4 separate regions of the Homo sapiens genome follow, and regions 1, 2 and 4 are each linked to region 3. The links are contacts of gene promoters, found by promoter capture Hi-C in human tissues and cell types (Jung and others, 2019). All regions are on one chromosome and are shown on one strand. The core of a region is centred on a gene start or on the middle of the fragment in contact, and the rest is flanking DNA. Distances in the headings are between cores, read along the strand shown.

Region 1 (6,123 bases), core at 89-2,588, 35 kb after region 3:
GTTGGAATACCCTGCCATGTGAGGTGTCAGTGTGCCCCTGCTGGGGGGTGCCTCCCAGTTAGGCTGCTCGGGGGTCACGGGTCAGGGATCCACTTGAGGAGGCAGTCTGCAAGTTCTCAGATCTCCAGCTGCGTGCTGGGAGAACCACTGCTCTCTTCAAAGCTGTCAGACAGGGACACTTAAGTCTGCAGAGGTTACTGCTGTCTTTTTGTTTGTCTGTGCCCTGCCCCCAGAGGTGAAGCCTACAGAGGCAGGCAGGCCTCCTTGAGCTGTTGTGGGCTCCAGGCAGTTCGAGCTTCCTGGCTGCTTTGTTTACCTAAGCAAGCCTGGGCAATGGCTGGCGCCCCTCCCCCAGCCTCGCTGCTGCCTTGCAGTTTGATCTCAGACTGCTGTGCTAGCAGTCAGAGAGATTCCGTGGGTGTAGGACCCTCCGAGGCAGGTGTGGGATATAATCTCGTGGTTCGCGGTTTTTTAAGCCGGTCTGAAAAGCGCAATATTCGGGTGGGAGTGACCCGATTTTCCAGGTGCGTCCGTCACCCCTTTCTTTGACTCGGAAAGGGAACTCCCTGACCCCTTGCGCTTCCCAAGTGCGGCAATGCCTCGCCCTGCTTCGGCTCGCGCACGGTGCGCGCACCCACTGGCCTGCACCCACTGTCTGGCACTCCCTAGTGAGATAAACCCGGTACCTCAGAAGGAAATGCAGAAATCACCCATCTTCTGCGTTGCTCACGCTGGGAGGTGTAGACCGGAGCTGTTCCTATTTGGCCATCTTGGCTCCTCCCTGTCACATTTTCTTAATCCAGTCTATCATTGATGGACATTTGGGTTGGTTCCAAGTCTTTGCTTTTGTGAATAGTGCCTCAATAAACATACATGTGCATGTGTCTTTATAGCAGCGTGATTTATAATCCTTTGGGTATATACCCAGTAATGGGATGGCTGGTATTTTTCAGGTAATTCTTAACTGTAAGCATAGGATTAATTTTCTTGGCCATCATTCTCTGAGTCATTGAAAACATAGTTTGGTAGTCACTCCAATTGAGTTAAAGGATTTTCAGTTTCATTGGGTAAAATCACTATAATTCGAAACACCATTATTAATAGACACTCTAAAGACACTCATCAACTTTTTAACACATCGAGCCTCGTACCATTATAAAAGAAGAGTCAGTTTCAAAGTTTAACAAATTTTGAATCTGTGACCACTATTTGCATCTTATATCTATGCTCCTAACAAAAGGCAACCAAATTAAATGGAGGATTTATTATAAGGTCACTGTCATTGTATACTTGTATTTCCGTGTAACCTGTGATAACTATTTCTTGTGTTCACTACCTCTGACTGTTTTAAGCGAAAGCACACAAGGAACGTGTTAAAGGTCAGTTCAATATTGCTATGGAGTGTGATAACATTTGTACCTTAAAGAATGTCTAACATTGCAACTGATTTTTTTCTACAACTTTAGAACCTTTTTCATTATTCTAATATTACAGCCCTGTTTGTTGAATGAAGGAATGAGTGAATAAATTGCATAGCTTCTCATTCTGCAAATGCATGATAAATTGTAATTGAGGAGAGACCACTTGTTCTACCAGTTTTGAGTTAATATAGATCTGACTCTGCTATTTTCATAATCATAATTATATTATCATAGTTCCCAGGAATTATATCTATGTGAAATTATAAATAATAGTATTTTGGTGTAAAAATTTAGATTTCTAGCCCAGAAAACAATATTAACAAATGAAGAAACCCATTAACTACTGCATTTAAAACTTCATGTTTAAAGAAATGATCTATTAATATATTAACATATTTTGCTGAAATGTGAGAAGGGTCCCATAGTTCTCCAACAGTGTTATTTTAGACAATCATCATATATAAGAAAATCTATGAAAAAAAGGACAGCAAAATTACAAATAAATTAGAAAACTATGCTTGTGAGCCTGGAAGCACATATCACATACCTGACTATGCCATTAACTATCTGTACTTTTTATAAACATAATTGTTATCTTTTGTAGTCTCAGAAAATTGAGTTAGGTAATTTTTTGCATTCCTGTTTATTTTCTAAAATTTCCATGACTCAGAGAACACTTTCTCTATGCATTGTGAGCTACTTTGGATTATACAACTAACCAAATGGAGTTTGAAAGTATAATGAATTAGGTTTTCTCAGTTAGTGATATTCATTCTAAAATTTGCTTCTATTAATTTCTACTCAGTAGCCCTTTCATATTCACCCATAGATCATTTCTTAAAGTTCTAGAAAAAGGGGGCCCAGGTAAAAATTCATGATTTAGCTTAATAAAATATTCCTCAACTTTATCCTATGCATAAATAACATGCATAATTTTTGAGTTACACCTCTTAGATTTTTTTTAATAAAACTAAGCCTAGAATTTAGCCTTTTATGATTTATGATAAGTCTAGGTCATTCCACTACTAATTCTTACCTTTAAAGCATCAGTGCCTTTTGCTATCTGCTCCTTGGGATTCATTTATTAAGAGGCTGAGATGTGAACATCTGTCCATGTTCCAACAGAACAAATCATTCCAAATAACCTTTCTAACCCAAAGTTCAATGGATGAGGCAGACAATGATTTATATTTGAGGAATTTTGCTTTGCTTTTGCAACAAAAGCCATTCTTTTACTGTACTCTCAACAACTGCTTGTATTGCATTAATCAGACCTTAATTAACATGGAAGAAAGGTGATAATTTACATTTATTTCAGATTGACACATTGTACTTTATTTAGCAAATGAGACCTGTCAGGCACTGCCAGTGATGCTTAGATTGAAGACAGAGTGTCGAAAATATGTCTTCCACCTGCCTGTGCCTTTGTAGGAGGGAGCTTTCAGTATGTTTACACAGGGATCATTAGATGTACCTCATGCTAAGCTTTCATGAATCTTTGAATAAGAAATGCTCAAAGGTCATCAGGTATGAAATATTTTATAATGACACAGTGCCGTAAGGCATGAGAAACTGTGATTTATTCTCCAAAGTAAACTCAAAAGAGGATAAAGGAAAGAGAACTGCATAGGACTCAAAATAACTTCAGATCTATCAAAAACAGAAGAGAGGAGAGCTGAAACTATGAGAATAGAAGCTGAGGAAAAGTTTATTTACTCAGTGTCATTGTGCAATTTAAAGTAAGAGTTGGAGGACGGAAGTAAATAGACGACCGCTGTAACTGATCAACTTCTAAGAACAATAAGTGACTATCAAATGTCAGGAAGAGAGGAGAATTTAGGAATTATGAAAAACAGTCTGCTACGGGATGAAAACTGTTAATTAAAGAAGATAAGTAATTTCTCCCATTCTTGCTTTTGATTGGGCATATAGGTAAAGGTTGAATTTGAAATATAAGTTTAAGATAATTGAGAAGAATGAAGCATATAGTTAAAGCCCATATTCTGCTTTCATAATTTTCTTGACTTTTATTAGCATATATTTCAGACCACAGTTTAAGGCAGGCAGTGAGGGGAAGTCTTATAGGCTCCCTTCTTGCATGTTTGATGAGCCTGGCCACTTGAGCATCACCCAGAGCATACTGTCCCCATGCAGGCATCCACATCTTTGCTCATGTGGTCTCCTCTGTTGAAAGGACCACTCCATCCACTCGATATGGAAAATCTGTTACCAGCTTTAAAGTGTGTCTTGGATCTCCCCTCCACTTGGGAGCCCAGTACCATTGTACTCCCAGAGTACTTTAAGTCGTTCTTATCCCACTGCTTATATACCTCTGCTTACCTGTAATTCCTATTCATATTTATTTCCCCATGGCTTGGTAGAATGTCTAGTGCAAGGAAAAAATTTTGGTAGTTGCTAGTCAAATTAGATTAAAATTTTAATGAAAATTCATATTTTTGTAGCCAGTAAATAGTATTGTTTTAGGGTGAAATCTTGTGTATTTGCTCTTTTAAATGTAGCAGTTAACTGGTGCAGGGATATGCAAGTCTACCACGGAGTGTGCATTGTGGCACTATTTATATAGTTTATGTGATGTGTGTATAAGTTTAAAATGTTAATGCATGTAAACAGTATATTCTCAAAAATTCATCGCCATTTATATAGTTTTGAAATGTATAGACTCTTCCTTTTTAAAATTAGTTTACATTTTCATTGACATAAATCATTAGAAGAAATTAAACTTTTTATTCACTGAAACCATAGTTTAAATGCTGATTTTTCTCTTTTATAATATAAAAACTTACATATATTACTTTTGGTAAACTTTTTAAAGTTTTATTTTCTTTGTCTAGAGATTAAAAGTTAATAATGCCTACCTCATTTTTTTTTTAATTTCAAAAGGTAAAATAGATCCTCAAAACCTCTAGCAAATTTTAATTATCTGATTAAATGTTTACTATCTTCTCATCACCTTTAATTAACACTCTGGCAAGCACACTAATTTATAGGTCAAGGGGCTGAAATTTCCGTCAATTAATGGCATTGAACAAGCCTCTTAACCACTGTTAAACTCAGTTACCTCATTTAAAAGTGAGAGTAATTTTGTTGAAATAGTAGGTGCCACTCTATTAAAGAGAAATAAAAGCTCTTTGGAGGAGAGGGAAATTTCTTGTTTGATATATCCTGTTAAAATTATACAGCCAAATATAGATGGAAAAGATGTTATAAGTCATAATAGAATCCATGATGCCAAATCTGCGTAATCTCACAACACAGCACAGAATTAATAATGATGTGGCTTGAAGTGGAAGATGTTTCTTATTGCTGAAGATCTGTATAAAAAGGACATTAAGTTTTTTTATGTTAGTTATGCCAAAGAAAGCATATTATGTATGAATTAGAGTTTCAAATTCTGTTTTGTGTGTCTCAGTAGGAATTAGAAAATTCTCATTATTATGAATATCTTGTTTCATGGTTGTTTAATGGCAGAGCTGAAGTGGAAACTAGGTTCCTGTCCATTTCCATGTCTTAAACTATTTCGTTTAAGGTAATACTTTTCAGATTTAAGAATCCAGTTTCAAATTCTCTTGCAAATTTTAGGGTCTATTTTCCAATTGCTTGCTGATACCTTTACAGAGATTTTTCTGCTAAACACAATACAGGCATATCTTGGAGATGTTGCAGGTTCACTTCCAGACAATTGTGCTAAAACAATTATCACAATAAGGCAAGTCACACAAATTTTTGGGTTTCTCAGTGTTTATAAAAGTTATGTTTACCCTCTGCTCTATTAAGTGTGCCCTAGTATTATGTATAAAAAACAATGTACATACCTTAACTTGAACATACTTAATTACTATGAAAATGTTATCAATCATTTGAGCCTTCACCGAGTTGTAATCTTTTTGCCAGTGGAGGGTCTTACCACAACATTAATAGCTGCTGACTGAATAGAGTGGTTGTTGAAAGCTGGTGTGGCTGTGACAATTTCTTAAAATAAGACAGCAATGAAGTTTTCTGCATTTATGACTCTTTCACAAAATATTTCTCTGTAGCACATGATGCTTTTTGAGAACACTTTACTCACAGAAATTCTTTCAAAATTGGAATCAATCCTCTCAAATCCTGCCACTGCTTTGTCAACTAAGTTCATGTAATATTCTAAATCCTTTGTTGTTATTTCAACAATGTTCACAGCATCTTTATCAGGACTTGATTCTATTTCAAGAAACCACTTATTTTCTCATCTGTAAGAAGCAGCTCCTCCTTTGTTAAAGTTTTGTCATGAGATAACTACTCTTAATGTTTATATTTTGACTTCCTCCCATAAATCACTAATGCTCTTAATGGAGTCTAGAATGGTGAATCCTTTCCAGGAGGTTTTCAAATTAGTTTGCCCAGATCTGTCAGAGGAATGGTTACCTGTGGCAGCTCTAGCCTTGTGAAACTTACCTCATAAATAATAAGACTTGAAATTCAAAATTACTCCTGGATCCATGAACTACAGAATGGATATTGTGTTAGCACATAAAAACATTACTCTCCATGTACATTTTCATCAGAGCTCTTGAGTAACCAGGTGCCTTGTCAATGAGCAGTGATATTTTGAAAGGAATATATATTATTTTCTGAGCAGTAGGTCTCAAAAGTAGGCTTAAAATATTTAGTAAACCATGAAGTAAATAGATGTGCTAATACGGCT
Region 2 (6,571 bases), core at 2,712-5,211, 52 kb before region 3:
GAACATAAAGAAGGGTTGTGGTAGAGATTAGTTACAATGAAAAAATGCAAACAGAATAAATTTTTAGAAGTGTTTGAAAGTTGTGATGGGTGCTTAGCTAATAGTTCGAAAACTCCACCTGCATCAGTGTTAGGTATATTTATTAATAAATCTCATACTCTATCTCTCTGAGTTCCTTTGCCTTGTAGAGATTTGTAAAACCTAACAACACTCAATAACACAATTAACTGTAAAGAGGTTAGAACAAAACTAAATTCTATGCGTTTTCTTCATTCACTTGCCTATTTTGAGGTATTTTTCCATTTCCTTAAAAGATACAAATGTTTCTCCTGAATCAAGCAAGACTGGAAAAGTGAATTTGATGACTTGATGTGGCTGATCTGGCCACATGTATGCTCCATGGGTTTCAACTGACTAACATAGAAACAGCACAACATTTGTATTGCTAGCCAGAAACTGTTGAGCAAATGCCGTACCTCTGATCTCAAACTGCTTGGCTGAATCTACTGAACAGATCCAAAGTAGTATAGAAAAAAAATCTAAGTCAGGGATTTGATGATCTTTCAGACTCTTTCAGATAATAATTGTTATCTGCAAAATTAAGATTTCAATAAGTTATTACACGCAGATCTCTGCTAAGAGCTCCTGCTATATATAATATGCTCTTAAGTAATGTTAGCTCTTATGATTCCTACTCAAGTTACAGTTTGTATAGTAAAATTAGGGTACAAATGTCAACTAGAGAGTGATGTTTCTACGTACAAAAAACAAAGGAAAGATAAATTCAGCTGTATATGATATCTGATTGAAAAGCCCAAGCAAGAAAGCTAATGCTCTAAGCTTAGTAACTTAGAATTGATTAGCCACAGTCTGCTAGTTGATAGGCCCAGTACATGACGTTGCTCAGAAAATGTAGTATTTAGAAAGTATCTAGTGAAAATAATTTGGCAGTGTCATTTATAAATTGATGTCTGTTCACTCACCTGATTAAAATGTACATTTTCAATAAACCTCAAAATAGAAAATACTATACAGAAAAGACCATCTTGAGTGTAATTTTCTTAATTCCAAGAATCTGTCAAAGAACATAAACCTGCTGATTCTAGTGATTAGAAGTGGTTCACAGAGGTTTATTGTGCAACATTTACATTTTATACCTACCTTGATGTAAGCTGTTCCTGTTATCGTTTGTCATACCATCTCTGGCCCCTTCTCAATTCTTCTCCTCTGTATATACTCTGAACTGTGCAAATATGATGCAAGAAAGTAGGATAATTGATGGTAAGAATTTCTTTTAAGAAATGACCATTTTAGTGCATTGTGAGTGAATGAGAGTGATGGCTTTGCATTTTTCCAGAAATATACAGCTATTTCTGGAATAGCTGTCTGACCTGTGTTTTAGTTGACTTTGGAGTATATTGTTAGGACGTAAACCCTGTGGTGGCATATAGGAAAATATTGACAGCACCTATTTTTAAGTATTGTAAATGCATGTAAGAACCTTAGGCTCTCAAATTATCATATACATATATATATATATGTATATATATATAAATCAATTATCTCTCACTTGAATTTGGAGGAGTTTCTTGGCTTTTCAGGGACTATGCTTAAGCCATACTTAACTAGCTCAAATTCTCTTTCTATGCCTGCTCTTTCTCACTTTCAGGTTTTTGCACGTGCTACCCTCTCTGCCTGGAATATTCTTCTCTCTGCTTCACTTGTCTTGTCTGATTCACTCCTTAACCTTTTGCTTTCAGCCTAGATATTTTGTACATGAGAAAAGTCTTCTCTGACCAACAAAAGTAGGCTAATACCTTTACCCATATGCATCCAAAACACTCCGATCACCTCTACCATTGAACATGTTACATTGTACTGAGCATTTGTCATTGTGTGTCAGTGTCGTTCACAATACTAGAATTAAACTATAGATAACAACTGTATTGTTCACCATTTTGTCTTGAGTTTTTAGCAAAGCATATGACATATATTAGATGTTTAGTAAACATTCATTAAGTGGACTCGTGATTTAGAGTTGGAATGAGTTGGGCTAACAGACTATTCTTGCCCAAGTTTTCTTCTCTGGGTTCAGATGTGTCTCCGAATCCTGGACCCTGGTAATACTTTGCTGTGTTCCATGCCGGGATCTAGATCTGGGATTCCTTAATGCAACTATTAAAGTTCTTACTTAAAAGCAATCTGTGAGGTATGTCCTCTTTTAGGACCTCTGACCAAAATCCAAAGATGGAGCGAGGACACTGTAATTTCCAAGACCCTTGTAAATATAGAAAAACATTGGAATTTCCACTATAGGCCAGTGTTCACCGTTGTCCTCTAGACTGTTAGTCATCCAGCATTTAGAAAAATACTATTAATGATTGATAACCTACCTCTGGGTAGGCAATTGAGGTTATAAAGAACTTCTCAAGCTGGGTGTGGTGGCTCACGCCTGTAATCCCAGCACTTTGGAAGGCCTAGGTGGGTGGATCACTTGAGATCAGGAGTTCAAGACCAGCCTGGCCAACATGGTGAAACCCTCTCTCTACTAAAAATACAAAAATAAGTCGGGTGTTGTGGCAGGTGCTTATAGTCCCATTTACTCAGGAGGCTGAGGCAGGAAAATGGCGTGAACCCAGGAGGCGAAGCTTGCAGTGAGCCGAGATCACACCACTGCACTCCAGCCTGGGCACAGAGTGAGATTCCGCCTCAAAAATAAAATAAATAAATAAATAAATAAATAAATAAATAAATAAACAAACCATCTCTACTAAGAATACAAAAAATTAGCCAGGCATGGTGGCGAGCCCCTGTCATCCCAGCTACTTGGGAGGCTGAGGCAGGAGAATTGCTGGAACCCGGGAGGCAGAGGTTGCAGTGAGCCGATATTGCCCCATTTCACTCCAGTTTGGGCAACAAGAGTGAAATACCGTCTCAAAACAACAACAACAACAAACAACAACAACAACAAAGTTTCTACAATGCGATGAGAATAATGGCCACCAAATGCCCATCAAGAATTTCAAGAATTTAATGTCTTTACTAGTGGTATTCCATAATCATTTAAGGATTATCCATAGTTAAAATTTATCTGTCTCCATCTATTGCCATTGTAAACAGTGGAAACTCACAGCTATGCACTTGCATCTGTCACAGACATGCTATTTATTTCTTGTCCTGTCAACTTCACCTATTTTTATTTGCTAACCATATTATTCTCATATATCTAACACATTAGAATGGATGCTCGTTTGTGTACATCATCACTGAACATATAGAATGTTGTATATAGTCAAAAGCATTTTCCTAATGTAGACTTATGAGGAAACCAATCCATCTTACCCTTCTAGTGTGTCCTACTAATTCTATACAGGAGATTAGGCAGTCAGCTATTATTCTCTTATTGCACAGAATTTAGATTCCACATATCGTTCTGTTGGATACAACCGTTTGTCTTTGCAATAAAATCCCCACAAATATTTTATGGTCTGAATTCAATAGTGTTAAGAGCTTTCAATTTCTGAAGTCTTGCCCTGTTCCTTCTTAAACACAATAATCAATAAGCCCTGTGTCACAAAGTCACATGTTTTAATGGAATTACATTGATAACTCTTGCCAAAGTCTTCCTTTAAAACCTGAAATTCTGTGATAAATTCATGTGTGCCAGTAATGGTCATAATCTTTGAGTACTGTCTTTCTACAGTCTCTATTATATTGCCACTTATGCCATACCTTTTAAAAATTATTTTATATAGAGTTTCAAAGGTAAAACTTTTATATCTTTTCCGAATTAGTACTTTTTTTTGCACAAAAAATTAGAGAAAGATTTTCACTTATAATTTTGAGACAAAGTCCTAGTTTCCTAGCAAAATTGATGTAAAATTATTTGTTCTTGTGCTTCTGCTATTCCACCTCCTCCTTTTTTTGTCGGTCCTTTGTTTAGGAAATATTTTAATAGGTTTATGCATGAGCCATAAGTAACTGCCCCACAATATTCTTTATATAACCAATATTCTTTTATATATAACTCTTATATAATCAATATTCTTTTATATATAACACTTTGATGTATAACTTCTTGATCCTTTGAGTAGATTATTTTATACTGTCATAAGATTAGCATTTTTTTTTCTGTGACAGTGCTCAAGTTTGGACTAGTTGGTAGAAGTTTTGAGAAATAACAGAAATTTAAATAACCACGTCTATAATTTACTGAGTGCTTATATTCTAGACACTCCAGTGTTAAGTACTTTTCATATATTAATATATTTTAATCTTCACAGCCACGCAAATTTGCCTCCCACTTTATAGATGAAGAACTTAGAATTCAGAGAACTTAAATAGACTGCCAAAGGATAGCAATAACAAAAGAGACTATTTTGGAATTCTGCGGAATGGAAAAATGAACCTGAAAATCTAAACCATAGAAACAAAGCAAAAGTCCTAGAGAGGACTCTTAGTCACCAGTGAATTCTCTTCTCCTGGATTTTTGCTTACACCAAGCATTTCTTCCTCTTCTTTGTTGGCTATTCCTCCTCTGCACATTCTTTAATGGTTGGCTTCTTCTAGGGTTCAGTCCCAGATCTTCATTTCTGTTCAGTCTTGTTCATTAGGAGCTTTCATCCATCACATGGTTTTAAATACTATTTAAATGATGATAAACCTGAACTGTGTATCAGTAGCCCAGAGCTTTCCCATGAGTTCCAGACTCATAGTCAGCATTCAACCTGATATCTCCACTAACAAGCATATAAAATTGTATGGGTCCAAAATGAGTGCTAAACTTTTACCTCCCTGAAACTATCCCTCTCGCTGTTTCTCATATCGGTAGTATCACTACAATTACTCATTAATCAAATCAAAATTATATGAAGCATCCTTGCTCATTCTTTTTCCCTAACTCTCCCAGTAAAACATAAATTCTATGGATTCTATCTCTAGCATATGTCTTGAATCTGCCTATTTGTATTGATACTTCTATGATTATCTTTTCTTTTGCCCTTGCCCTTTCCTAACTGCAGACCTTACCCTGGAATGCTGTGTTCTCCTTGATCTTATTTTTTTTTGCTAGATTCTTCTCTCTGAGTTCTCAACGTGAAAGTAGACAGAATTTTTTCAGGACTTCTTTAGTCATCTTATATAGTCCCTTGCTCTCTTCCAATCCCATCCATTCTTGTCTCACCAACCTAAATGCTTATATTTCTACTTGTCATTATTTGTAGTATTTTGATAATCCTTTGTATACTTGCTTGCTAGACAGGCTCACACAAAGGCAGAGATGTGTTTCTCTGTTGTATCCCCAGTTAACAGCAGAGTATTTGGAAATTGTAAGTATTCAATATTTATTGAGTTTCAAAAAAACTCAATAAATAAAGCCTAATATAACGGTTGCAAGGATGAGGTGGGTGGTGAGGTATCATTACATGGGAATGAGGCACTTCAGTTTCGTTTGATAAACTCCTCCTTTTTAAAAAAATTGACTGTACCCTGTGGAATTCCTGAAGTGAGACTTAGAAGATTCTTGACACTGGCTATTTCAACTTTTTTTTTTTTTTTTTTTTTTAGTAAAAACATACTAAATCTTTATTGTCCAGCCAAATCCTCTTTTCTGCATTTAATGTTAATCTCTTCTTAAATTTTGAGTTCAGAAAAGCCTACTTTACGTTCCATGATCATCATTGCCTTTTTATGAATAGAAGTTTATAGGTTGCATTCATCTCTCTCTTCGTTACAAATTAACTGCCACAATGATTTATATAGAATAAGAAGCCTTATTATTACTACTAATTGTGGTACATGGTGGATGGTGAATGTATTTTTAGCTAACCTTTATTAGTACTTTGCTAAATATTTTACATTCTTCCTCTTGTAATTAATGCTATACCTCTTTTACAAAGAAGAAATATTAAATTACAAAGCTTGGAATGGCCAAACTGCAACTCAAGCCTACCAGAAGAAAATGATCTTAAATATTATGTTCTAACTACCCAGTACTTCCTGTCTATGCCTTCTCACCAGGAGTGCCTCGTATCTCATCATACAAACGGGTAGGAATGATATCACAATGAGAGATGAAAGAAGAATGTAAATTTCTTTTGCATAAAGGTGGAATACTCACAATTCCTCACCAAAGCGATGTGATTTTACATTCTAGTATTTGCTTTATTGACCAATTGTACCTTCATGTTAGCATGACAAAAACTTGAAATTAAATTCATCTTTAAACCATTTTACTTGTATTTTGGCTAAATAATAATATTTGAGGAGTCTGTAAGTTTAAAAGGGGAGACATCTAAATGGATTGCCCTTGCTATTAAGCAGGTTTTTCAAAGTTAGTCCTCAGACCATTTTGCTGGTGTAGGGCAAATTCCCCCTTCCCTTTGCAGTCAGACTAGATCAAAATTTCTGGTTCACCCAATTTTTACAGCAAATGTCTACAAGCTTACCCATTCACAAGTACTTTAATAATAACCTAAAGAATAATTTTGTCTTGTACATTTATAAAGGTGATGTGAGAATTTATTAAAAAGAGATCCCACACTATGGAACAAATATATTATTAAATATATAT
Region 3 (6,343 bases), core at 658-3,157:
TCTTCATTTCTCAGCCTTTCAGTTGATTCAGTGCCAAATTATTTATACTGGTCAAAATTTCACCCAACACCCTAGCTCCATTTTGTAACACTACCATGACCTCCATTAAAGGTCATGTAGTGACCCAACAAATACATGTAGAATAAATCAGTGAGCAACCCTGCTCCTTAATCCCTGTCCCTTCAAAATTCCATACCATGATCTTTGTTACCTCCACAATATTCTCCTTTGAAGCACCTGTTAGTCATGCGAAGACACGTCCAACAATCAAGAATGGGACCTTCAACCACAACTGATAAAGAGGAGAAGAAAGATAATCAGAAAGAGGGCATGGCACGAGGGTTCCTTAGTCATACATCAAGTGTGGAGGATTTGATCTCAAGCATTCCCAGGACTCTCAAGTTTGCATTGCTGTGAATTTCTTCTTCTCCTAGAAATCAAGTTTCTTGATGGATCAAAATCTGTAAGTCTGATCTCCAGGAAAAAGCGGGAAAAGGATGCCTCAGCTTATACTGGGGCAATGGGTTGTAAACCATATGTTAGAAGGCCTCCTAGTACCTCAAAAATATGTGGGGTGTCTGAGATTTCATGAGCTAGGTTTCGTTATCAGGTATTGTTGACGTTACCCCTTGTAACCACAGCTCTAGGAATTGGTTTCCCAGTGTAACAGGTGGGAGAGATAGGGCCATATAGAGCAAAGGAGATGGGAAAATATGGGCTGAAACCTCAAGGCGTCACATGTACTGTACTCACTGCAATCTTCAGAACAAGCTAGAAGAGAATCAGAAAGTTCTAATGAGTTTAAAACCAGCTACAGTTTGCCATATTTATACCCAAGTAGTCTTTGTTTACCCTTTAAGTTCCAGTTACCTCTCCACCCATTCTAAATAACTCTATTATGAACTTGCATTTCTTCCCTCATCCCGCATTTTCTATTCCCTTCATATAACTTCAGTGCTGTTATATAGAAAGTTTTACTTACCAATTTCAGAGAAGTTCTTTAGTAATTCTTTCAGTTTGGATTCCAGGTTTTGGCAGACATCGAGAAGCTTGCCTTGATAGATAAAGACACCTAAGAGGGAGTGGAAGGGGTGTCAAAAAATAGAAGTAGCTCTTCCCTTCAGAAGTTAATTATGTCTGTTTTTATCTTTGTTTTCCCCAGCCAAATTTTCTGAGGCTTGCTTGAGCAATACAAACTTTTAACATTGAAACAGTACCTCACCTTTCCATGTTTCATTGCCCAGTTTATAAAATTCATTCTTCAACCATGTTCTCAACTTAACAACCTGCTGAACAGCTAGAGAGGGAGAGTAAAGGTACATGTAGGGGAATAATTACATCTATGCAGGAAGTTATGTAGACCCAGGTGTTCTCTTCCTTGCCTCCCTTCTCCGTTTAAGCCCCTGGACTCTCAGGAACTCAAGCTTCCCTCACCCAACACCCGAAGCCTCTTGTCACTGTGGGAGACCTTGAAGCTTAAATGAATCATCTCCTTAATCTGCCGTTCAAGCAGCTGAGTTCGGCCGGGGACTTCTGAAGGTATCAGATTTCCCAGCAAGGAGCCAACATCCTCTATAAATTTGGGGTCACATTCTAAACAGCCTTTGACTCCATGGAAGGCTGAGAGGGGCAGGAGCAGGAATAACCACAGGTCACCCATTTCTTTCTTCACCCCCGCTCCCCGACAGCAGGTTGTCCTGGCAACTAGTTCACTTAGTTCCTTTTCCTTCAAAAATCCGGGAATGAGAGCCTGGTTCTGGATAGTCTGACTCCACTTTTCCCGCTGTTTCCATCCCACTATCGGGCAATCTTTAGTTGTTTAGTTTAATGATCTTTAGTTGTTTACTGACTATTATCCTTCATTCTAGGAGAGGGAACTGCCAGCTGGGGAGCGGATACCTGAGTTCTGAGTGTAGAACACCAAGAGATAGAGAAGCCTTGAGCTCACACAAGCAGAGTTCTGTGCAGGGAGATGTCTCAGAAAAAGTGTTTCTTTAGCCCTCTCCCTGACTTGCATCCTCATGAGACTCTTAAACCCCCTCCTGACCTTCAGAGATGTTTATCATCAGAGATGGGTTATGGAAGTGATCCTATAGAACCTGAGAGATTGCTTAACTCAAACTCTGCTTCTACATTAGAGGTAAGAAAAGCCAAGAATATTGAGTTTCTTGCGGGTCTCGGTCCCTACTGGGGCAGTATTGTTGACAAATACTGGTGGCAGTATTGTTGAGAATAAAGGAGTGAGCATTTATCTAGAATAATATTTGGCAATTTTAATAGACAGTAACATATTTCAGGCTACATTTATCACTAGGATGATTTTCTAGACATGACTTGTAATCTTTTCCTTTTCTTCTTGCTTTCTTCTCTTTTCTTTCCCTTCCTTCCTTCCTTCCTTCCTTCCTTCCTTCCTTCCTTCCTTCCTTCCTTCCTTCCTTCCTTCCTTCTTTCTTTCTCCTTTTCTTTTCTTTTCTTTTCTTTTCTTTTCTTTTCTTTTCTTTTCTTTTCTTTTCTTTTCTTTTTTTTCTTTTCTTTTCTTCTTTCGAGATGGGATTTCACTCTTGTTGCCCGGGCTGGAGTGCAATGGCATGATCTCAGCTCACTTCAACCTCCGCTCCCGGGTTCCAGTGTTTCTCCTGCATCAGCCTCCTGAGTAGCTGGGATTACAGGCATGTGCCATCATGCCTGGCTTATTTTGTATTTTTAGTAGAGATGAGGTTTCTCCATGTTGGTCAAGCTGGTCTTGAACTCCCGACCTCAGGTGATTCACCCGCCTCGGCCTCCCAAAGTGCTGGGATTACAGGCATGAGCCACTGTGCCTGGTGATTTCTAATCTTTTTATAGCATTCTTCTTATAGAGAGTGTGGAGTCAGATACTAGAAACAATAGTTGAGGAATACTGAGTGATGAATCCAATAAAGTTCAGATCCTTTAACAAGTGCATTCTAAAATACTGGCAAAGTATGTAACATATAAAAACATAGTGGTTATCATGGGCTTCCCTCTCAGACCACCTACAAGGAAGATGTCCAAATAAACATGTTCTCCTTTCAATGGCCCTTTGAATAAAAATATTCTGTGTTATTTGAATAAATTGAGGTTGCTTTTCAGACTCTTAAGAGCACTGGTTACCTCTTTTCTAATACATTGCCTGTATGGCTGTGACCTTCTGGAAACCAGGAAACACTGGCAATCTACAGGGTTAGTGGTAGAATTTATATTTAAGATATGGGGTGATCACAGTGGAATGTTGTGCGGGAAGTTAAAAGAATTACCATTACTTATACGTCTACCAAGTCCATGTGACAGACATTGTGCTAAACATTTCAGGTAGTCACAAATTCTCATGGCGCGCAATCCTTTGGAGATTGTCATTTCTATGTTACTGGTAAGAAATTGAGACTCAGAGATGTAAAAGAATCCTCGCTGGAAGAATAATTTAGAGTATGAGTTCAGGGTTCAAGCTCATGTCTTGTGTGGTTCCAAACCCTATACATTTTACTGCCTCTCAACAACAACTTGCTGGGATAACACAGAAAATTATCTCTTGGAATTTGATAAGTCAAAATATGAAGGCCAATACAGATTACTTGATTTATGGTTTAAATTAGCATATCTCTGCTCAGATTTTTTTTTTATTCCCTTGGCTAGATGATCTCATTTTTAGAGGATTTCCCAAAAGATTTTCACATGCTGAGGTCTGAAGGCAAGTGAGCTAATGGGATTAAATTAACTCTAGATAGTAAAGTTGAAAACTAAAGGGGCTAAAAAATTTGGCAGAGAAGTGGCAAGGTATGAGAACAAACTGTGCTTCAAGAAAAGATATGCATTATAGATATTTTCCAGTCAATGATCCATACCTTCACTTAGACAGTTCAAAGAGTATCCTCTGACACATTACTGAATAATTCAATGGCACATTACTTTAACCCAGACTTAGAGGTCCATCTATCATTTTTATCATTGTCTCACCCTTCCAGCTTAAATTTCAATCAGGTTTTTAGAATGAGAGAAAAAAAATGGCTTTTGGATAGTCTTAGAAAGGCTGGAAAAAGGCAAGTCACTTATTAAGACAGATAGAACTTGTAATTGAAAGAATACATATATCCCATGTAAAAGGAATAACAAGGAAGGAAATCTCAGTCTCATGGAGTAAACAGTAGAAAGATAACACAATGTGCTAATGGTAAACCCAGAGGTACACATCGAGGTTTATGAGAAAACAGAGCAGTACTAGCTAAGTTTAGAGAAATTTTTATAGAAAGGCTGGATCCAGGAGATTAGAGACAGTAATTAATATATCATGATGAGTGAGAATCCAATAGTGTTCAGGAACCTTTAGGGGGAACACTCTAAAAGTACTGATGGTGAAATGTATAACATAAGAAAATAACCACAATTATCATGGGATAGCACTTTGAATTTCGTAAATGTAAAATATTTGAGCTTTGGGAAAGAAGAGCTGTCTGGAAATTGATTAATAATGTAATGATCACATTACTTAATTAAAATAATAATGCCTGTGTCTGGAAAGCAAAAGGCTAACACCCAAACCCTAGAATAATTAAGTTAGTATATGGTTTGGCTTGGCAGGAAGAGCTATGATTTATAGTCAGCACAAATCTGCAGACTAGCTAGCTAAACTCTGTTTAAAATAGTATGAGACAAATAATGGCACATACATTCATAATATTTTTACCAACTACATAATGACTCATTTGTAGTTGTAACATAGATATTCATGGGTAGTTGTTTTTATACTAAAACACTAGCAATTAGAGAGTCCCTCCTTTAAGGGCTAGAATCAGTTGTTTGGTACCATTTGGCCTTTGTTACAAATCACATAAGGTACTGAGGTTTGAAATTTGAAGAACAAGTTTCATAAAGAGCAAGATTTTTACAGAAATTCTCCCTCATCCCATGGTAGATCTGATTTCTCAGATTTATTAACAAAAATAATGAATCCTTATCCTCAAGCTTCTTACAGCCATTTTTCTGATGGATTATTTATGCCATTGAGCTCTGCTCTATTACCCATCCCTACCTATCACTTCACAGGATTCCTTAAAAGTTTGGCAAATAATTTAGATACCTTTTATAGTCACATGCAGTTAACTACATTCCTGACTGTAATCTGAGATCAAGAAGCCATTACTTGACATTTGGCCATGTTATAAGCTATATTTCTAGGTAGTGTAATAATCGTATTTGAAATAATTACTATATACCAGACATTCCACATGTAGAATAAGTTTAATTTTCTATATACCTCCCCATTTATATTCCATTGTCATTAAGCTAATTTATTTCCTCATATTTCACTTATCCTTTAGGAATAGTCATAAGGGTGGGTAAATTATAGGGTAGACTAGAAGATTTACAATGAATCTTTAACAGGAAATGAACTAAAAAGCTAAACACATCAAGGCGATTGTGGGAAGAATGAGGGGAGGAGGGTAGCGGAAGCAGAAGATATGTGTCACAGCTTATTTTCTCTCTATACTAGAAATGTTGAGTTAAATCCTCATATTCCATGAGCTTTTGCCCTGTTCCCTTTAAGGGCTTTTACAGAATAGGTTAATAGAAAGGGCTCGTGAGACGATGTCAGTTCCTATGTGGCATGGAATGTCTTAAGATGCTTTCACTGGGTGCTGGGGAAGGATGTACAACTCAACTCAGGATCTGACTGGCACCTTTGCTGGCATATCACCAAGGCTTCAGGTAAAGGGACCCTGTGTAACAGCCGGAGAGCAGACCTGGTACCAGGGTCAGGAAAGGAAGTGGAGTCTGCAGCAAGCGTCAGGGCCTTGTTGGGCCAAATCATTAGGAAAGACCACCAGTTACTGATGCAACTGAGAGAAAACAGGTTGAAAGTGCCCCATGTGCAGAGTTTCTCAACAAATACTATAAATAGATTTAGGAATGGTATTAGGTAAAGTTACATCTTCACCTTGGAAGATACCAACACACTGTCAAAAACTAAAACACACGTTAGTGGAGAAATTTACTGCACAATTTACTGAGAGGATAAAAAATCAGGAGTTTTTAAACCCCTCTCTAGAAGGAGAGGGAGTCCATGGTGGTTATATTTACTACATTTTCACACGCTAGATAGGAAGGATTGAGTCCATGACTGGACTTGTAGTTGGTTAAAACAAGCCTGGATTTTGGTGATTATGAATTTGTTTTAACCTGGCTCAAGAAGGTCTAGGGTCCCAGAGTTACTCAGACTTCATAGTTTCTTAACAATTTCGGGAGGTTAAAGCTAGCTGGCATGAAACATAACAGTTTTGATATGTTGTAGGCAAACGCTACTGTAAGTGAAAAACTTTCTTCTACATGA
Region 4 (6,709 bases), core at 2,773-5,272, 55 kb after region 3:
ATTACCACATAAAATAAACTCTTGCATAAAGTTGCATGTTTATGAGGTCTTTGTTAATTGTCTTTGTTAACATTGTCTTTGTTAATTGTGTTGCTTCTACCTTATTTAGAATATTTTAAAAATTATATTTTAATGTCGAATATCACAATATCTATTGGAGTTTAAAGGTAATCATCACACACAGGTTTAAAACAGAGATTGATGGAGTTAGAAAAAAATGAAAATTAAAATGTGGATGACGTTACGCACACTGCTAAGTCAGTTTGCACCGTGGCCAGATAGTCTTCCTTCCCCACCCTCACTGAGTATGTACACTGGAAAAATCCAGCTAAGAGAAAACATAGGACTTGCAGCAGAAACATCCCTTCAGGTATCAGTGGGACTTCTAACTCATATTTTTAAGCTTGAAGAACAGTGGCAGAGAAATAAAACATAGATTTGACTCTACAAACCAGACCCTGAGTCCTGAGGAAGAACCAGGTTAATGGAAAATGAAGAATGGCAAGAAGAGCAGCCCAAAGAGTAAACCCCAGAGGGAGGGAGTAAAACTACATATGCCCAGTGCTTTTTGCTATCCTCAGAGGGGAATAAACAGGGGGATTACAAGAGAGAGAAGAGCATGTACATAGAGGAGAGAACCTGCAGAGCAGAGATAGAGTTAGGATTGTTCCAAGGCTATTGAAAAAAGTTCTAGATGAGAATTGATTGCTGGCTGCAGTGAAGTTATTAAAAAATGGTCAGATTTTGGATATATTTTAAACTTCGAGTCAGTAGAATTTGCTGATGGATACAGTAAGGAATATAAGACTATAAGAGAAAGTCTAGGATGACTCTGAAGTTTTGGACACATGTTAGGTTGGAATTTCTTTTTTATTATGTGTCAAATTTTATTTCTCTGCACATATCACAGTGTTTTTTATTGCTTATCAGTCTTTTAAAGTAAGTTGTTGTTTTATTAAAGGCACATCTTATTTTTAAATTAAAATGATATTACATGACTTTGTCAGAAAGGTCAATCACCAGCATTTTGTCTCTTCATCCCACAAGATTACTCCCAAGATGGTAACAGTTTTTCTACTATTTTTAAGATATTTTTTCTATGATATTTTTAAAATTACATTTAAAAATGTTAAAACATTACTTTCTTTAAAATAATGAAATTATATTTCATTTACTCATTTTAGTAACTCTTGATTTCCTGTTATGGTAGTTGAAGATTTAGCTTTCCACCCATCCTCACATTCCTGCTTTCCCTTTTCTCAGCCTTTTGACTAAGATTTCTTTAAACTCATTAATAGATTAATAGAAGATATTTTCATGGTGATGACTATGTAAATACAATTCACTTCTAAAGGACGTATTGTGCTATGATTACCTTTCTTTTCCCATTGCCTCCCTTCATCACTACACACTGGACTTAATAATTGCTTAATTTACGTTAGTTTCCTATACGTGTATGAACATTTTTCTCCAAATGCATTGATCTGTCAATAGGAAGGATTCCTCTTCCTTCCTATTTCCCAGTCTATATCGTTGAAGTCTAGGCTTGAAACAAAGATGTTATTTGTGTATTTCTCTCACTTCTCTTATTTTTTGTAATCCCACTCTCTGGATCTCATGTCTTCCTTTTAAGGTTTTCTGCATACACATCTTCTAATATAGTGTTTTTGAAACTTTAGCGTGCATCAGAATCACATGGATATCTTTTTAAAACAGTTTACTAGGTTTTAACCCCAGTTTCTGATTCAGTGTATCTGGGGTGAGGAGAGTGAATTTGCCTTTTCAACAAATTCTCAGGTGCTGCTGCTGATTTGGGCAATACACTTTAAAAACTATTCCAGGGCACAAGGGACATAAGATTTTGAGAGCTTCCATGTCTTTCTAGTTTAGCTAGTATGATAAATTGCGCTATTGCCTAAAACCCCCCATGCCTACTTGTATCCAAGCCTTTTGGGGTTTTTGTTTGTTTGTTTGCTTGTCGTGTAACTGCAATTCTTTCTACTAGAAGTGGAGTTCACTTCCCTGTTTTACTGGTGAGGGGTTTGGTAATGTTCTTTGCTTGGGCCAATGCTGTTTTAATAGATGGAACTCAAGCAAATGATTTATACTTGCTTGCAGGATGAGTTTCTCTTATGTTTTCCCCTTCAACAACAACAACAACAACAGTGACAACGAAAGTAAGAAAGAAAAAAGCCTTAGGTAGTGTTGTCATCTCAAAAATGAGAGACATCTGAGGCAAACCTAGCTGAGCCTAGCATGTAGAAGCTTAACCACAGATAATCTGCAGGAGCATGGGTGAAAAATATATGCTTGTTTATATAAGCCACTGAATTATCATGTAGTGTAACAGTGTGAAAGTAGCTAAATAATAGAAAGCCTGGGAAAGAATAATTTTCTCTCAGAGTGTTCATTTGTTTAAGAGCTTACAATTTTTCCCCTTATGGAACATTTTAGAGAATTCCCTTCAAATGATTTCTCTGAATTTTGCAATGATCAACACTGTGAAGGACCTTTTCTCATTTATTGTGCTGACTTCATGATTGGCCGTTTTATTCTAGAGATACAAATTCTTATCTCCCAGAATTTTCATATATTGCTATTATATTTTCTTCATGATCACCCAATTATGTTTTATTTGCTCTTCCTAGAACTCCTATAATCTAGATGTTAAACATTCTAGATTGAGTTATCTTTTCTTTCATATTTCTGGAATATTTCTGGAATCACTATTTCTGGAATCAGTATTTCTGGAATATTCCCTTGACTTTATCTTCTAAAATTGCCAATTAATTAAAAATAATAGACAGTTTTATCCCTAAATTCTCAGCATTCCTGGTTCTTCTTTGAACGTTTCTTATAAAGTCATATTTTCATTTTACAACTGCATTTTCATCTCACAACGGGCATTTTCTCTCTTCTTTCTGAGAATAATGAGGATCTATCTACAGTATCTATATATTTACTTTTTTTCTACTTTTTGTTTTGAGGGTTTCTTTACACCATTTTTTGCTTATTTATTGTGGGATCCCCTTTTTCATAAGTTGGTTATTTTTCTTACTGGAGGGCTTATTTGGACGATATCATCTTGGTAGCAGTGAAGCTTTGCTATAGGAGAGCAGGTTGTTAACTTAGGGTTTTGTTTGAGAACACTCAAAATTAATAGGAGTCTGTTTTTTTCTTTTTCTTTTTTTTTTTTTTAAATTCCCTAGTGTCACTTAGTTTCTTGTCAAGGAATCTTCCAGGCCAACTCCTGGGTATGTGTTGGTCAGATCAGGTATTATTGACGAGAATTTATGCCTGGCTGCGAGGATTCTGGGAATAGGTTAGAGAAAGATCCATTAACATGTTTCAGTTCAACATGTAGTTGTTCAATTTCTTTCTCTATTTTCAGCTCTATTCCTCAATTATGCCGTCAACTGAGTATGAGTCTGGGGTGTCCCCAGCTCAATTTTCTCAAAGAGGAGGAGGAGAGTGCCTTAGCTGTCCTTTGCCCTGCAAGGCATTTATATTATTATTTCCTTGATTGTTAAGCCTGTAATCATGTCTTCCCACATGCTTTCTGCCTTCTAACAACCAGAAATAACTTGCTTGCTATTTTCTGTTCTCTTGTTTTCTATCCTTGGGTTTATAATAATTTATCATCACTTTAGTGAATTCAAGGGTGGGAGTTGAGAGGAATTGGGAGGGGTAAATGAGCACCCGTGTTCAAGTAGAGGTATAATTTGTTAACTGTGTTAGCTGAACTATAATCTTCATGAAGAGCGGATGTGTAGCTACCTTATTTACAGTTCTATACCCATGATCTAGCACAGTGCCAGGCACATAGTTAGCACTTATTTAATACGTGTTGAATGAATGCTTCAAAAAGAAATATGTAATATTTAGATATCTGTTTGACAGAGTCCACGGATTTCCAATTCAAAGGAGAAAATGCAGAGATGTTGTGGAAAGCAGGCCAGACCATTATTTTTACCCAGCACAGTGGCATGGACAGACAGATAATTACTATTAAAAAATTCAGTCCGATTAGCCTTGCTCTTAGTTAACATATTTTGCAGGCACTCTTTACACTTAATTTTTTTCCAGGGAAAACATCCTTCTCTAGTTCAAAGATATATGGATCACATTCCTGGGCCATTGTGAAGTATTATGAAGTGATTCTTCTCTTTATTTTGAAAAAAATGGAAGGTCAAACAAATAATTTTTCTTTTTCAAATATTTGTGGTGTTTTGTCGTGGTAAATTGAGAGGTTATGCTCCATATCACCTGGTATGTAAAATATGATCCACTTAATTCTTAAAAGATAGTTAGCTTCTATTTGAACAAATATACTGTCCAGTAGCCTTGTACCTTGTGTTCTTGAAAAACACACGTGTGATTGTGAAATACTTTGGTAAAGAATGCATAAAGCAGAGACAGATCTAAATATTCTTTTAGTAAGATTAGAATTTCTCAGCATTTTTAATCTGGCACATATGAGAATATTGCTATGATGAACGTGCATGTATCAGAAAAGGTAAGTTACATTACTTAACTCTCTATTGTTTTTAAGGAAATTCTAAATCCTAATTTGGTTTAGGCCTTTAAACTAATGTCCATATAACCCAGCATGACTTATAAAATCTGTGATTATAGGCATGTGTTTATTAGTATGTGTTTGTATATCAAAACATTTATATGAGCAGGCAAATATTCTTCAGATAAATCATACCCTTCCTAAGTATTTTCCTCCAGAGAAGGTCACTAGTTTGAGAGTAAAAGTACATATATACGTGTGTGTGTGTGTGTGTGTGTGTGTGTGTGTGTGTGTATAACATATAGGTTTAAAATGAAAATTCCTTGGCTATAGAAAATATATTTACATGTATATAATAAATTGCTACAGTATTACAAACACCCATGCTTTCTTATTACCTGGGAAATCCAGATATTCCCTTTCTATTTCCATCTATACAATTCAGCTTGAAATCAAATCGCATCTATGAAAGAAAGAGAACAGAAGTCCTATTTTTATGAAAAGCAATGCCGAAGCCATGATGTGTCTAATTCACTTCTAAAAATTCTACTTAGGTGCAAGGACGTAGAAGACACTATAGTTTGCCTATTAGCTTTTGCTGTATACATAGAACCGAAATTAGTATGGCTAACACCCTGTGACTATGGCCATTCTTAATGACTCTTGTAATGCTTATGGATAAAACTGGTTCTCAATTATCACTCTGGTAATTGGGGCTGCATTTTTAGCATAAGCGAACACCATGGGAGGCCCAGAACTTCACTGTGGCACAGAACCCCCAAGCCTTCTCACTCTGTCCTTTGTCTTATAACTTGATCTTCATTTCATTCCAAAAACTTGTTCTGATTTCAGCAAATTTCTCTGTTCCTGGAAAAGTTGCCATTAATGTACATTAATTTACCATCATCTTCTGTGTATCTGTCCTTCCATTCTGGACTGTTAGCCCCTTTCTCCTTTCTAGTTTTCCATGATACGACCTTTATTCACTCTCCTCCTGCAGTAGCCTTTTCAAGATATTATTCCTAATGGATACAGATGCTCAAGTATGTAGACCTGCCATTCAATATGATACATATCAGGGGCACACTTTGTTTTCCTTGTACTCTGTCTGTAGACTCTAAGTCCTATAATTGCAGGAGCTTTGTGTATCCTCTAAATGATGTATCCTCAGAACCTAATGTAGTGTGTAGTACATAGTAGGCATTCATTACGTATTTGTTGTGTGAATAAATGCAATTGTTTGTGATTGTATTACATTTTGAACTTCCACATGCCAAGGTCTATTCCTTTAGTCCAGATACTAAGGCATTTGTCTGCGAATTGCATCAGGATCTGAGTCATGTTCCATCATGAGAGGAAATAATTTACTATGATTATTGTTGCCCTTAACGGCACTAACCACAAAAGTGCTTGTAAATGCCTAATTGTCCATGGAGATATATGTGGTAATGTATGATAAAAGGAAAAGCCCCAAATTTTCAGAGTTTGACAGGCACCTCAGTTGTAGACTCATACATGATAGAACATAAGAAAGGCAGAATTCAGGCCATTTTATGTAAAATTAAGAAAAATAAGATTTCCTATTTTTGTGTCTCAAATGGTTTTTTTAAGTAAGCTAATTTTATGAAAAAAATCAGAAGTTTTATGTGTAGTTAATTTTTCATTAACAAAAGAATAGAAAAATCCAAATAACATACAGGTGATCAACACATTTCATGCATACAAACATACTCTTATTCATGCATGCATACATACATACAGTTTTTAGAAATGCCTATACCTAAGTAATAACCATTAGTAAATTTCTAACTGAGATCCTCTTGATAATAAAAGATAGTTAATAGCTTAAGAAAGTCCTTGTTCATGCTTCATGTGTCATTACCATGTATTTAGGAAATTCAAGCATATAAACTCTAAGTGACAATAATATCCCCGTTAAACCAGTGAGAGATATCTGTTATTTAAAAAAAAAAAGATTGTAGTTGACAATAGATGTGCTGACATCATCCTAAATATTTGAATTTGCTAATAATTGTCCTCTACACAATTGTAGTAAGAGTTCATCCTTAAGATGCATATGTTTTGCTAATGTTAAGATTAGCTGATTAATATTGATGGCAGCTAAGGCCAGTGGCTAATGTCTGACATCTGTTTGGGAAATCATTGTTCCCATTCAGGAAGCTGGCATTTCTG

The links. Contacts are between HindIII fragments. The study calls those that stand out against the background at their distance.
Region 1: a fragment that was not itself captured here is called in contact with the fragment with the promoter of IZUMO3 in region 3 in 6 of the 25 tissues and cell types used here (H1 embryonic stem cells, dorsolateral prefrontal cortex, lymphoblastoid cells and 3 more).
Region 2: a fragment that was not itself captured here is called in contact with the fragment with the promoter of IZUMO3 in region 3 in 3 of the 25 tissues and cell types used here (H1 embryonic stem cells, bladder and spleen).
Region 4: a contact is called between a fragment that was not itself captured here and the fragment with the promoter of IZUMO3 in region 3, in 5 of the 25 tissues and cell types used here (H1 embryonic stem cells, aorta, dorsolateral prefrontal cortex and 2 more).

What each region holds. Positions count from the first base shown.
Region 1 is chr9:24,579,783-24,585,905 of GRCh38, forward strand. No RefSeq gene overlaps it. Among named protein-coding and RNA genes, the nearest start is that of IZUMO3, 37 kb to the left of the region's middle. RefSeq lists an enhancer at 1-502. The HindIII fragment of the contact is 6,530 bases long and covers 1-4,603 here.
Region 2 is chr9:24,490,174-24,496,744 of GRCh38, forward strand. No RefSeq gene overlaps it. Among named protein-coding and RNA genes, the nearest start is that of IZUMO3, 52 kb to the right of the region's middle. The HindIII fragment of the contact is 4,435 bases long and covers 1,745-6,179 here.
Region 3 is chr9:24,543,990-24,550,332 of GRCh38, forward strand. IZUMO3 (IZUMO family member 3) reads right to left here and starts at 1,908. Exons shown (of 7, transcript NM_001365008.2): 1 at 1,435-1,908; 2 at 1,223-1,297; 3 at 983-1,072; 4 at 754-771; 5 at 212-292. The coding sequence starts at 1,660. RefSeq lists an enhancer at 358-1,557. The HindIII fragment of the contact is 4,602 bases long and covers 1,237-5,838 here.
Region 4 is chr9:24,597,285-24,603,993 of GRCh38, forward strand. No RefSeq gene overlaps it. Among named protein-coding and RNA genes, the nearest start is that of IZUMO3, 55 kb to the left of the region's middle. The HindIII fragment of the contact is 5,377 bases long and covers 1,335-6,709 here.